3 separate regions of the Homo sapiens genome follow, and all the other regions are linked to region 2. The links are contacts of gene promoters, found by promoter capture Hi-C in blood cells and fetal thymus (Javierre and others, 2016). All regions are on one chromosome and are shown on one strand. The core of a region is centred on a gene start or on the middle of the fragment in contact, and the rest is flanking DNA. Distances in the headings are between cores, read along the strand shown. Region 1 overlaps LRBA (LPS responsive beige-like anchor protein). Region 2 holds the start of MAB21L2 (mab-21 like 2). Region 3 overlaps LRBA (LPS responsive beige-like anchor protein).

Region 1 (4,004 bases), core at 514-3,013, 120 kb before region 2:
TACAAAGCATTATGGGATAAAATTAATAATGCTATGCAAATAAAACAATTCATTTATAAATAATAATAAATAGTCACTCCACATCACAGTAACTTAGCATGATTAGAGAATAAATACTTAACTTTGAGAAGGATTACTGACTGGCAGTGTGTTGCTGGTATATGTCAGGATTATTCATCACCCTGACAGTAATATTAACCACAATCCATTTCAGTTGCTTCAGTTTATCATTTTCTGACTAATGTTAAAAAACAATGTCTTTGGAGGCTGCTTGAATTAAGTGTAGAATTAACGTCTGTTAGAGTCATTCAAAAACTTCTATTAGAAGATAACTTCTACAGAAAACCAAATCTGCTATACAGAGTACTAATGCTTAAAAGATGTAAGTTTCGAAACACAGCCATACAAAATAAATGGACTAATTCTGTTTTAAAAGCAAAACTTCAACAAATCCTGTAAATGCCTTATAACATCCATATACATATATATTCCTTAAATATATATGCTTCCACTTTCCTGAACTTAGTATTAAATTCTACATAAAGAGTTGCACAGACACATTTTAAACTAACATGCCACATTGAACACGTAATAATTCAATTTAAAAAGGTCAGTGTACCCATGAAAAATTTTCTTCAGGGTTATATAAATTAAATAGCTACACAGTTTGCTACCTAGGATCCTCAAAATTAAGTAATCTGCTAAAGGTCTCTCTACTTATAAATGGTAACAGGAATATACAACTCTATCTAAATCCAAAGATTCCCTGCTCTGGTCTAATTTTATCTTTCCAGGCTGTTTTCTCCACATCATGTTGATATTCCTTTTAGAAGATATCTGCATTTATAACTCTTCTATTAATTTTTATACTGCTCTTTCTTGTTTTATGATTATTCACTTTCCATAGCATAATTTTCTTGTTCTATTAATGCAATAGTTTCCCTTTATCTGAAAATATTTATTCTAGTTTTTTTTTTTTTAAAAAAACACTTCTGTTTCATAAATTGCCTCTGTTTCTTCTGGTTTTGTTTTGATTTTCTATTTGCTTTGGTCTTTGTCATCTTTCACATTAGAGGTTGTCTTTAAATGTTTGCTAATACTTGGCTGCACCTCCATTTTTAAGAATGAGACACTGAAGAGCTGACTGAGCATATAGACCATAAGTAGTGATGTGAACTGGTAGACTTCACTGAAGGGAAATCAAGTGGGCTCGAAGTAGAATCCCTAAATGTTTTATTTTTTTAGGTGTTTTCTTTTGAGCCAGTGAATATGTCCAAAGAGTAATACAATCTTCTGTCTTATGGGGTGGGGATGGTATAAGCTTAGCTGCCGCAGTTCTAATAGCATGACAGCAGAAGGGGTCTAGGGGCTTTCACGACTTGGTACTTAAAGCTTTCAGTTATAATCCTCCTGTTTTCCATCCTTTACCTTAAACCCTCCTTCTGGTGTGCTTGGTGTTCTCATATCAGAAACGTGTCTGGTAAAATTTCTCCAAAAAAGTCAATCTCTTGCTTTTTGACAATACAGAGGGAAGAGTAGTTGGATTTTGGAATGAAGCAGATATAAAGCAAGTATTGAATTTAAAATGTTCTTTCAGATTATACCTAAAGTCTACCAGTTGACTGACAGACAGATTTGAGATCAAATCCTGAGCTTACCACTTGGAAAATGTGTGACCTCCCAGAATTCTTTAACCTCACTAAATCTTAGTTTCCTTATCTGTAAAATAAAGACAATAACACATTCCTTACAGGGTTATTGAAGGAATTAAATGAAACAGCATATGTAAAATGCCTGTCATAGTGGAAAGCACCTATTAGGGCTTCCCTCACAATCCTACAAATACGTTGGGAACTCTCCCCATATCATTTTTATGCTTATTAGACTGCAAACTTTCCAAGGCCAGACAATGTAATTTATATCATAATCTCTAAAATCAATGTGGCATACAACAGCATCCATGTTTGATGCCAAGATTAAACTATTTTAACATATTATGTCAGCCAATAAAACATATCCAAAACATAATCAAGTATGGGGTAATTTTTAGTTTCTTTCTCTGCATTTATATTTTATTTAAACAATTTAAGATCTATTATTTACTGTTGTAGTATCATAAGATGTGTTTCTTTTGGTAAGCTTGAATTCCTTTAGCTTCACTGAAGCCCAATAAATAGAAAAATGAAGTAAAAGCCATAACACCTAACAAGTTTAAACAATATTCCCCCCACCCCCAAGAGTGTTCTTTTCCCTCTGTGACATCTAGATGGTATATTGATTCCCAGTGTATCTGTTACAGAGCAGACTAAAAGGACTGGCATTCATCAGAAACAGCACTTAAAACTTAAAGAGATAAAGAAGTGCTGTCTGATCAACAACAGTTAAATGTCGGTAGTCAATTCCAGGTCAAGATGCATGCTGTATATTAAATGTGTGTGTTAAACAGAAATATCTCACACATAAAAATATACATCCAAATGGTAGGAGATACATGAAGGAGAGAAAAAAAAATCACTTACTTTTCCTGAAAGAGAGAGCGAGAAACAGAAACATATACTAAGCACAAACAGGAGCAACTCAGCAATGAATAACAAATTCACTATGGTTCTGTCACTCAGTTCTCTTCGGTTTTGTCAGAATCTACTCTTTAGAACTATTTGGATCCAAACTAGGGCAATGTAAACTGCTAGGTTAACAGAGTGTGAATAGTCTAGCATTGTAACATAGGTTTAAAAACAAAACGAAACAAAACAAACATGATTTCTTAGAGCTTAGACAAAAATTTAAAATTCAGTTTTAGTCAATTTTCCTCTGATTCCTATGTTGCAAGATAGGAATCAGGAGATCATGGTGCAGGTTCATTTTCTTCTACTCTTTATTTTCCTGTTTCTGCACTATGGACCAAAATAACAGCTCATTTTGTGGTTACAATCTAAAGATGAAAAACAGATTTTTCTTTACCTTGTTCCTCAAACTCTCTATTTTCCTTCATTTTAAAAATGTGAGTTGTAATTATTAAAAAGTAAGTATTTGCTTTATCTTGGCCATTCCTGTTTCTCCCAAATCTTCAGCTTATTCTTTTACTAGGATAGTAATGACTTCATTTTATTCTTTCACATCTTCAGAAACTAGCAGTCCATGGCATATTACAGTACTCAATTAACAACCAATAAATGAATGAACAAATGAATAAGCAGTAACACTGGGGATCCTCTAGTTTTAACCGAACATTCAGCTTTTTTTGTAAAATAGGTTTAATCAAAAAAGGCTGGAGCATAACCTGGGATAAAGACAACAAGAGTAGGGCAATTTGAAAAGAAAAAAAGCTTTCCTTTTTCAAGCAATAGCATGCTGCTTGTAGGTACTAGGTACTTCAGCATGAGAAGTGAAAGGCAACTTCATAAATAACATTAAAACAGAACCAGCAACTGGTGCCAAAAGTGGAAGGCACTATTGGCATATTACAGAGTTTCTCAAACTTTCTGGGCCAAAGCTCACGTTAAGAAATATGTTACTTTAAAAAACACACATGTACATACACTCAAACAAATTGAGCAGAAGATTTATACAATATGCACAGTGATGGTTTCTTTTTTATGTTATGCTACGGTATCCCATTCATTTTTTAAAAACGCAATTGTGAGCTACAGGTTGAAAACTTAGTGTTCAAATTCTGATTCTACCTACGTGCAACTTGACCTCATGGTGCATTAGTTTCTGCCTCTGTAAAAAACAATAATGTTACCTACTTAAAGGGATTTTGTGAAGGTTAAAGGAATTACCACACACAAAACACTTAGACAAATGCCTGGCATATAGTAAATGCTCAATAAATATTAGTTAACAATAATAATAAAGTGGATGATCCTGTCTTGTGAATTTCATAGCCAAGATAATTGGGTTTTCATTGGCAAGTGGAATAGTTATCAATTGCATTTCAATCCAAGAACATGCTGGTTTTTTTAAAAGGTACCCAGATTACTATACAAATACATATTATATAT
Region 2 (3,867 bases), core at 548-3,047:
GACAAACTGCCTGTGGTCCGCACCAGGTATGTAAGAAAGAACCAAGAGGCCCAATTGTCTGATACCAAGTAGATAGAAAGAAATTAACTTCCCTATGCAATTCAATTCAGGTTCACCCGGCCGGACTTTAAGAGGGTAAGTCAAGCCCTCCCAAGGGGTTTTGAAAAAGCCGAACTACCAGGTTTCTAAAACGAAGTCTTCACCCAAATGGACGCATAGATTTTTATTTTTATCGCATAACCCAGGGCTGGAATATAACCTCCCAAATCAAACTAAAAATAATCACATCTACCTGAAATACGTTAAAAAGATTCAGAATCCAGACATCTTAGGTTCATACATAAACCCTCAGTATCAAGCAAATCAGAAACAATGTTCTAGCTTTTTTTTTCACCCAAAAGTATGGAAAGGCTACAGTGGGTACAACTCGTTTAGGATAATACATATACTAAAAGCACATGCATGCCTTTCATTGAAATGCCTAGGGAGGAGTGAAGCCATCTGTGTAATCAATAACAGGATAGTTATAGATTTTTGTGGCAGTGAAGTCTTTTAAAAGCAAGAGTCAATTATGAAAATAAAATCATTTTACAAATGAAACTCTGTACCTGTACCCCCTAAGAATACATTCACAATTAGATTTACAACAGTAAGATTTTAAGAAAACTTTAGGTTTACATTTACTTGCCTTGTTTTTCATTAAGTTTGAAGCAATTTTAGTAGCTTATTTTAAAAGTATATCCTACTAAGTTCTACGACATGTAAGTTTGCACCATTTCTCACAACTTAGATATTTTCTCTCTCGTAACTAGTTAATTCTTGTAACGATAAAATAATGGTATTAAATACATGTGAATCTTAATTATGAAATAATTATCAAACAAGGTGCTTGGACTAGTTTTTGCCCTGCCCTGTTTTTAAACAGCATATCGAAATTACTAAAAAGAGATTTATAAACCCTCACCTTATATCCACTCCAACCCTCACTGGTGCACATATACAGCAACTGCTCTGATTCTTGGCAACAATGGGAGGGGAGGGGAAGAGAAAGGAGGATGACTTTAAAGGAGGAAAAAACCTGGAAAAATTAGGTCCTTTCCCAGATTCCCCTTTCGCTTCCCATTTGCCTTCAAGCCAAAGTAATTTTGTTACAGTTTGCACCTTCTACTACACAATGTTGATAGAATCATTTAAAAAAAAAAAAAGTGAACCTTTCTGAACCATTGCTACTCTCCCTCGCGTTATTCCAGCCATCTCCAGGAGAGTCCCTTCTATATAAACTCTTTTTCTTCTTTGCTACTGATAAGAGAGGAGGATAAAGAGGAACGGCTGTAAAATGTGTGCAAGCATTTGACTCCCATTATCTCCTCCTATTTTCTTACTTCTCTCTTTACCCTGTTTCTTTATCAAGTGCAGTGGTGGCTGCTACCGTTCGCCAAGCGTGCCTGTCTTCTCTCTCGGATTGGCTAAAGCACTGACAGCTCGGATAGCGATTGTAGGAACTGAAGCTCCACCCCCTCATGATGGCCCTGGGACCATTCATAAACTAAATAACTCCAGGAAACAGCGAGGGAGAGAGAGAAAGAAAGAGAGAGGGAGAGAGAGAGACAGAGAGAGTTAGAGGAAAGAAGAGAGAGCGAGCACGAGGAAGGGGGGCGGGGGAGAGAAGCAGGGGGAGAGCGGGGCGAGAAAGAGGTCGGAGGGGAGAGGAGGGGGAGAGACGACTCAGAAAGTGGAATCTGTAAAAGCAAGCTAGAGGAGAAGAAGGAAAACCCTGAATCGTTATAACTACACCCCAGATGCAACGCAAGCAACGACTTCGTCACACTAAAACGGATTTTGTGAGGGCCAAAAGTATAAATTACGAAGCAGAAATGATTATCAAACAACTTCCAGCGGTTTGCACCTAAAGAAACACAAGGAGAACCCACTACAAACAAACAAACCCAGTCCAAACAACGCCTCCAGTAGGAAAAGAGGAAAACTGCGATAACACGACCCCCCGAGAAGAGACGAGACCAACACGCTGAGACTGTGGGGCGTCAGCAAACCTCCAAGTGCACGGCGGACTGAGTTGTACTTCGCAGCTCTCTGGACATTAATTACCTCCTGCACCTTCCATTTGGGGGAGGGTGAGGAAGAAGGCACTCACCTACACTGAGCGAAGAAGTCCTATCAGCGTGGAAGAGAAGTTTAAGAATGAACCACTGAATGTTTCGCTTTTATTTTTAAATTTACTTTGGCACTTAAAAAACCTCATTTCCAGATTTCTGGACAATCTCGGCTGCAGACATCTAAGCCTAACCTTTTGGTATCCTGAGTTTTTTCCCTCTCCTTCTCCTTCCTCACGCCCACCCCGCTTCTCTCGCACACGGTCATCTTTACATATCAAGAGAAAGCAAAAAGGTTCCAAGAGGTACTTTTCTTTTTAGAAAATCACCTTTTCTCCCCTAATTCTTCTGCAGAAGAAAAGAGGTTTCGAAAGAGGGAAAAGGAAAAAACAAGCCGGCTACGGTATCAGCCGGTCAGCCCAGGTGGAAAACGAGAGTGAAAGTAGGGCTTAACGGGGAGCGCACCGCCTCTTTCGAAAGCCGCTGGGCCACCACCAGTGCGTGAGCCTTGGATCCCTCAACGTATTGCGAGACGCCGGTGTATAGCCCGGACCTGTGCCCCAACATGATCGCCGCTCAGGCCAAGCTGGTTTACCAGCTCAATAAGTACTACACTGAGCGCTGTCAGGCGCGCAAGGCGGCCATCGCCAAAACCATCCGAGAGGTCTGTAAGGTGGTCTCGGACGTGCTCAAGGAAGTGGAGGTGCAGGAGCCTCGCTTCATCAGCTCCTTGAGCGAGATCGATGCCCGCTACGAGGGGCTCGAGGTCATTTCGCCCACCGAATTTGAGGTGGTGCTCTACCTAAACCAGATGGGCGTCTTCAACTTCGTGGACGACGGCTCGCTGCCCGGCTGCGCAGTGCTCAAACTGAGCGATGGGCGGAAGCGGAGCATGTCTCTCTGGGTCGAGTTCATCACGGCGTCGGGCTATCTCTCAGCGCGTAAGATCCGCTCGCGTTTCCAGACGCTGGTGGCCCAGGCGGTGGACAAGTGCAGCTATCGGGATGTGGTCAAGATGATCGCGGACACCAGCGAGGTCAAGTTGCGCATCAGGGAGCGCTATGTGGTGCAAATCACTCCGGCGTTCAAGTGCACCGGGATCTGGCCTCGCAGCGCGGCACAGTGGCCTATGCCCCACATCCCTTGGCCCGGCCCCAATCGGGTGGCCGAGGTCAAGGCCGAAGGGTTCAACTTGCTCTCGAAGGAGTGCTACTCGCTGACCGGCAAGCAGAGCTCGGCAGAGAGCGACGCCTGGGTGCTACAGTTCGGGGAGGCGGAGAACCGCCTGCTGATGGGCGGCTGCCGAAACAAGTGCCTCTCAGTGCTGAAGACTCTGCGGGACCGCCACCTGGAGCTACCCGGCCAGCCGCTCAACAACTACCACATGAAGACGCTGCTGCTGTACGAGTGCGAGAAACACCCACGAGAAACGGACTGGGACGAGTCGTGCCTGGGCGACCGGCTCAACGGCATCCTGCTGCAGCTCATCTCCTGCCTGCAGTGCCGCCGCTGCCCTCACTACTTTCTGCCCAACCTCGACCTCTTTCAGGGCAAGCCCCATTCGGCCCTGGAGAGCGCTGCCAAGCAGACCTGGAGGTTGGCCAGGGAAATTCTCACCAATCCCAAAAGCCTGGACAAACTATAGGGTGCTGGGGACTGCTTGAAAAGCGACACAAACGGGCGTGCTCTCTCAGACACACAACTCTGCTATAAACAGCAGAAACTCTGGACACAAACTTTTATGTAAGTCACCTGA
Region 3 (3,865 bases), core at 251-2,750, 100 kb before region 2:
TTTTGCCATTTTAACATTTCTCTCAGAGACTTATTAGGTTACTTTCAACTATATAAATACTTGTTATTAAGTCCATACATTCAAATACAAAACTAATATGTGAATTCTGATTTACCAGAGGCTACACATACAGGTTTTAATTAAATATAGTTACAAAATCCTTAATCTATAGATTTAATATTTATATTAAATAAAAAATTGTATGATGTAATAGAGCAAAATCCAATCATTTTTATCAAAACGATGAAAAGTTTCAGATTTATCATGTGTATATTAAATAATGCTATAGCACATACTAAAATGATTGTAATAAACACTTTTTTAAAACAGCATCACATGTACAGATGTAATAAGCACTTTTGGCTTAGATATTTTTAAATATGCTTAGAAAGCTTATCTTTCAATAATTGTGATTGGAATATAATTAATTTTTTATATTTATTTAAACAGTTTTACATAGATGTAATAATTGTACATATTTATGGTGTACGCAGTGATGTGATATACATAAGACATAGTGATCAGATCAGGTAATTAGGACACCCATTATCTAAAACATTTATCATTTACTTGTGTTAGCAACAGTCAAAATCCTCCTCCTAGCTATTTGAAACTGTATTACTGCTAACTCTAGTCATCCTACAGTGTTATATAGAACTTTAGAATTTATTCCTCAGTCCAGCTCTTATTTTGTATACTTTAACAAATCTCTCCCTATCATCTCTCCCTCCCCACTACCCTTTTGATCCTCGAGTATCCACTGTTCTACTTTTTACTCATATGGAGATTAACCTTTTGGTAGCTTCCACATATGAGTGAGAACACGCAGTGTTTAACTTTCTGTGCCTGGCTTATTTCACTTAATATAATGTCCTGCAGTTCCATCCATGCTGCCACCAATGACAAGATTCCATGTTTTTTTATGGCTGAATAGTATTCCATTGTGTATATATGGCACCTTTTCCTTATCCACTTATCTGTTGCTGAACACCACTGATTCCATCTCTTTGCTAGTGTGAACAGTCCTGCAATAAACATGGTGGGTGCAGATGTCTCTTCAATGTACTGATATCCTTTCGTGTGGATAGATGCCCAGTAGTGGGAACTCTGGATCACATGGGAGCACTATTTGTGGTTTCTTGAGGAAGAGATATAATTTAATACATTATATTAAATGTATAATATTTATCAAACTTAAGTGTACAATTTGATGAGATTTGAATATATATATATGTTTCTGTAACCACCACCACAACCAAGATACACTCTAAAAGGTCCCTCATAACCCTCTGCAGCTAATTCCCTTGCCCCAACTCTTGGCCCCTGGTAACCAATAATCTGCTTTCTGTCATTGTGTAGTTTTGCTTTTTCAGTAATTTCATATAAATAAAACCATGGCCTATGGCTATGATGTATGGAGCCCGTAATGTTTAATTTCTTTCATTTAGCATAACACTTTTGAAATTCATCCATGTTGTTGCATGTACCAGTAGTCATTTCCCTTTTATTTCTGAGTGGTATTTCATTTATTCCAGTGAATACAGGTATTGCAATCTGTTTAGCCACTCACAGTTGATGGACATCAGAAATGTTTACAATTTGAGACTGGAATAAAACTGCTATTAATATTTGCTTAAAAGTAAATGTGAATATGTATGTTTTCATTACTCTTGATAAATGCCTAAGAGTGGAATTAGTATGATATACATTAAGTTCCTAACCTATACATCCTCATTAACTTTACACATTCTTTGTTGTTGTTTTTGAAAATCAAGTTTGTTGAAGAATAATTTACATAGAGAAAAATTCATTATTTTTAGGTGTACAATATAATGAGTTTTCTAAACATAGAGGCTTATGTAAGAACAATTATGACATGGAATATTTCCATGATCCCCAAAAGTTCCTTTTATTCTCCCTTGTATGCAATTCTTCCTCTTTTCCCATAGCTCCTAGCAATCATTGCTCTGTTTTCTGTCCCTAACAGCTATGCTTTTTCCAGAATGTCATATAAATGGAATCATACAACATGCAGCCTTTTGTTTTGGCTTTGTACACCTAGTATAATATTTTCAAATTCATCTGTGTTGTTGCATGTATTAGTGCTTCACTCCTTTTTATTACTAAGTACTATATAGATTCCATTGTATGGATTTATCACAGTTTGTCCATTTACCAGTTGATAACCATCTTGGTTATTTCCAATTTTTGTGATGAATATGGCTGCTATAAATATTCATGAAGCAGTCATTGCATGAACATATATTTTCATTCCTCTAGGGTAAGAGACCTAGAGTGAGACTCCTAGGATGTATGGGAAAGTGTATGGTTAATTCTATATGAAAGTGCCAAATTGTTTACAAAGAAGTCGTACCACTTTACTTCCCCATCAACAACATGTGAGGTTCCAGTTGCCTTGTATACTGCTCTTGGTATTGTTAGATTTTTAAAAAGTTATTCGAATAGGTATGTCATGGGATCACACTGTTGTTTTAATCAGCATTTCTCAGATGACTAATGATGTTTGGCATCTTTTCATGTGTTTATTCGGTATCTATATCTATTCTTTGTTGAAGTATCTGTTCAAAACTTACATTTTTTTTTTGTAGCAAGCTTATCTTGTTATATAGTATGTTTCCTACATATCCTGGATGTAAGTGCTTTATCACACATAAGTTGAACAAATACTTTAATCCAGTCTGGCGTATATTTTCATTTTCTTAAGAGTTGGCATTTCAAAGCAAATGTTTTTTATTTTAATGAAATCAATTAAAGATCTAAAGAAATATTTACCTAATTCAAGGTCACAAAGATTTTTCTCCTATGTGTTCTTTCAAGAAGTTCTACTTTTAGCACTTACGTTTGTCTACACTACGTTTTTTTCTGTTACATTTTGAGTTAATTTATATGTAAAATTAAGGGGTGAGGTTCTTTTTCTTTTTGGATATGGATAACCAATTGTTCATCATCATTTGTTAAAAAGATCATTTTCCCCCCTGGGCATACCTTGACATCTTTGTCAAAAATCAAATTGATCATATATGTTTGAGTCTATTTCTGGACTCTGTTACAGTCCATTGGTTTATATGAGTCTATCCTTAAATAACAAGCTATCCTAATGAATGTAATTTTATATTAAGTCTTTTGTTTTTTTTTCTCAAAATTGTTTAAACTATTCTGGATATTTACAATTTCACTTAAATTTTAGAATCAGCTTGTCTATTTCTCTTTTTTCCTTTTTTTAAGTTAAAAAAATAGAGATGGGGTCTCCCTATGTTGCCCAGACTGGTCTTGAACTCCTAGGCTCAAGTGATTCTCCCACATGGACTTTCCAAAGTGCTGAGATTACAGGTGTGAGCCACCATGCCTGGCCATCTTGCCAATTTCTTTAAAAAAGAAAGAAAGAAAGAAAAAGCCTGCTCAGATTTTGGATAGAGCTGCTTTGGACCTCAGATCAATTCTGGAGAAAACTGACATCTTAATAATATTGAGTCTTCCAATCCATGAGCGTAGTATAGTACAATTCTCCATTTTTAAGTTTTAATTCTCCAAAACAGTTTTATAGCTTTCAGTGAGTAGGTCTTATAAATACATTTTCAAATTTATCTATATGTATTTATTTTTTGATAGTATTTAAACACTAGTTTTAATTTCAATTTCTGATTGTTCATTGCTAGCATACAGGGATAAAATTGAGTTTTATATACTGACCCAGTATGCTATGAACAGCTAAACTCATTTATTAGTTCTAACAGTTGTTGTTGTTGCTGTTTTTTTCCTCATAGATTCCCTGGGACTTTCCACATAAACATTCAAGAAGGTATGCTAAAATGACTATTTTATTTCTTCCTTTCCAATCAGGATG

Evidence for each region. The method cuts DNA at HindIII sites, captures the fragments that hold promoters and counts their contacts. A CHiCAGO score of 5 or more calls a contact.
Region 1: a contact is called between a fragment that was not itself captured here and the fragment with the promoter of MAB21L2 in region 2, in 1 of 17 cell types (megakaryocytes). The highest score is 5.9, in megakaryocytes.
Region 3: a fragment that was not itself captured here is called in contact with the fragment with the promoter of MAB21L2 in region 2 in 1 of 17 cell types (megakaryocytes); the score reaches 5.1 in megakaryocytes.

The regions. Positions count from the first base shown.
Region 1 is chr4:150,457,818-150,461,821 of GRCh38, forward strand. The region is part of intron 44 of LRBA (LPS responsive beige-like anchor protein); the gene reads right to left. Among named protein-coding and RNA genes, the nearest start is that of LRBA-AS1, 120 kb to the right of the region's middle. The HindIII fragment of the contact is 747 bases long and covers 1,391-2,137 here.
Region 2 is chr4:150,580,354-150,584,220 of GRCh38, forward strand. It overlaps MAB21L2 (mab-21 like 2), which reads left to right and starts at 1,798. Exons shown (of 1, transcript NM_006439.5): 1 at 1,798-3,867. The coding sequence starts at 2,677. The coding sequence ends at 3,756. All of the region lies in intron 40 of LRBA (LPS responsive beige-like anchor protein), which reads right to left. LRBA-AS1 (LRBA antisense RNA 1) reads left to right here. Exons shown (of 2, transcript NR_149035.1): 2 at 1-881. The HindIII fragment of the contact is 6,793 bases long and covers 1-3,867 here.
Region 3 is chr4:150,480,261-150,484,125 of GRCh38, forward strand. The region is part of intron 42 of LRBA (LPS responsive beige-like anchor protein); the gene reads right to left. Among named protein-coding and RNA genes, the nearest start is that of LRBA-AS1, 97 kb to the right of the region's middle. The HindIII fragment of the contact is 2,221 bases long and covers 391-2,611 here.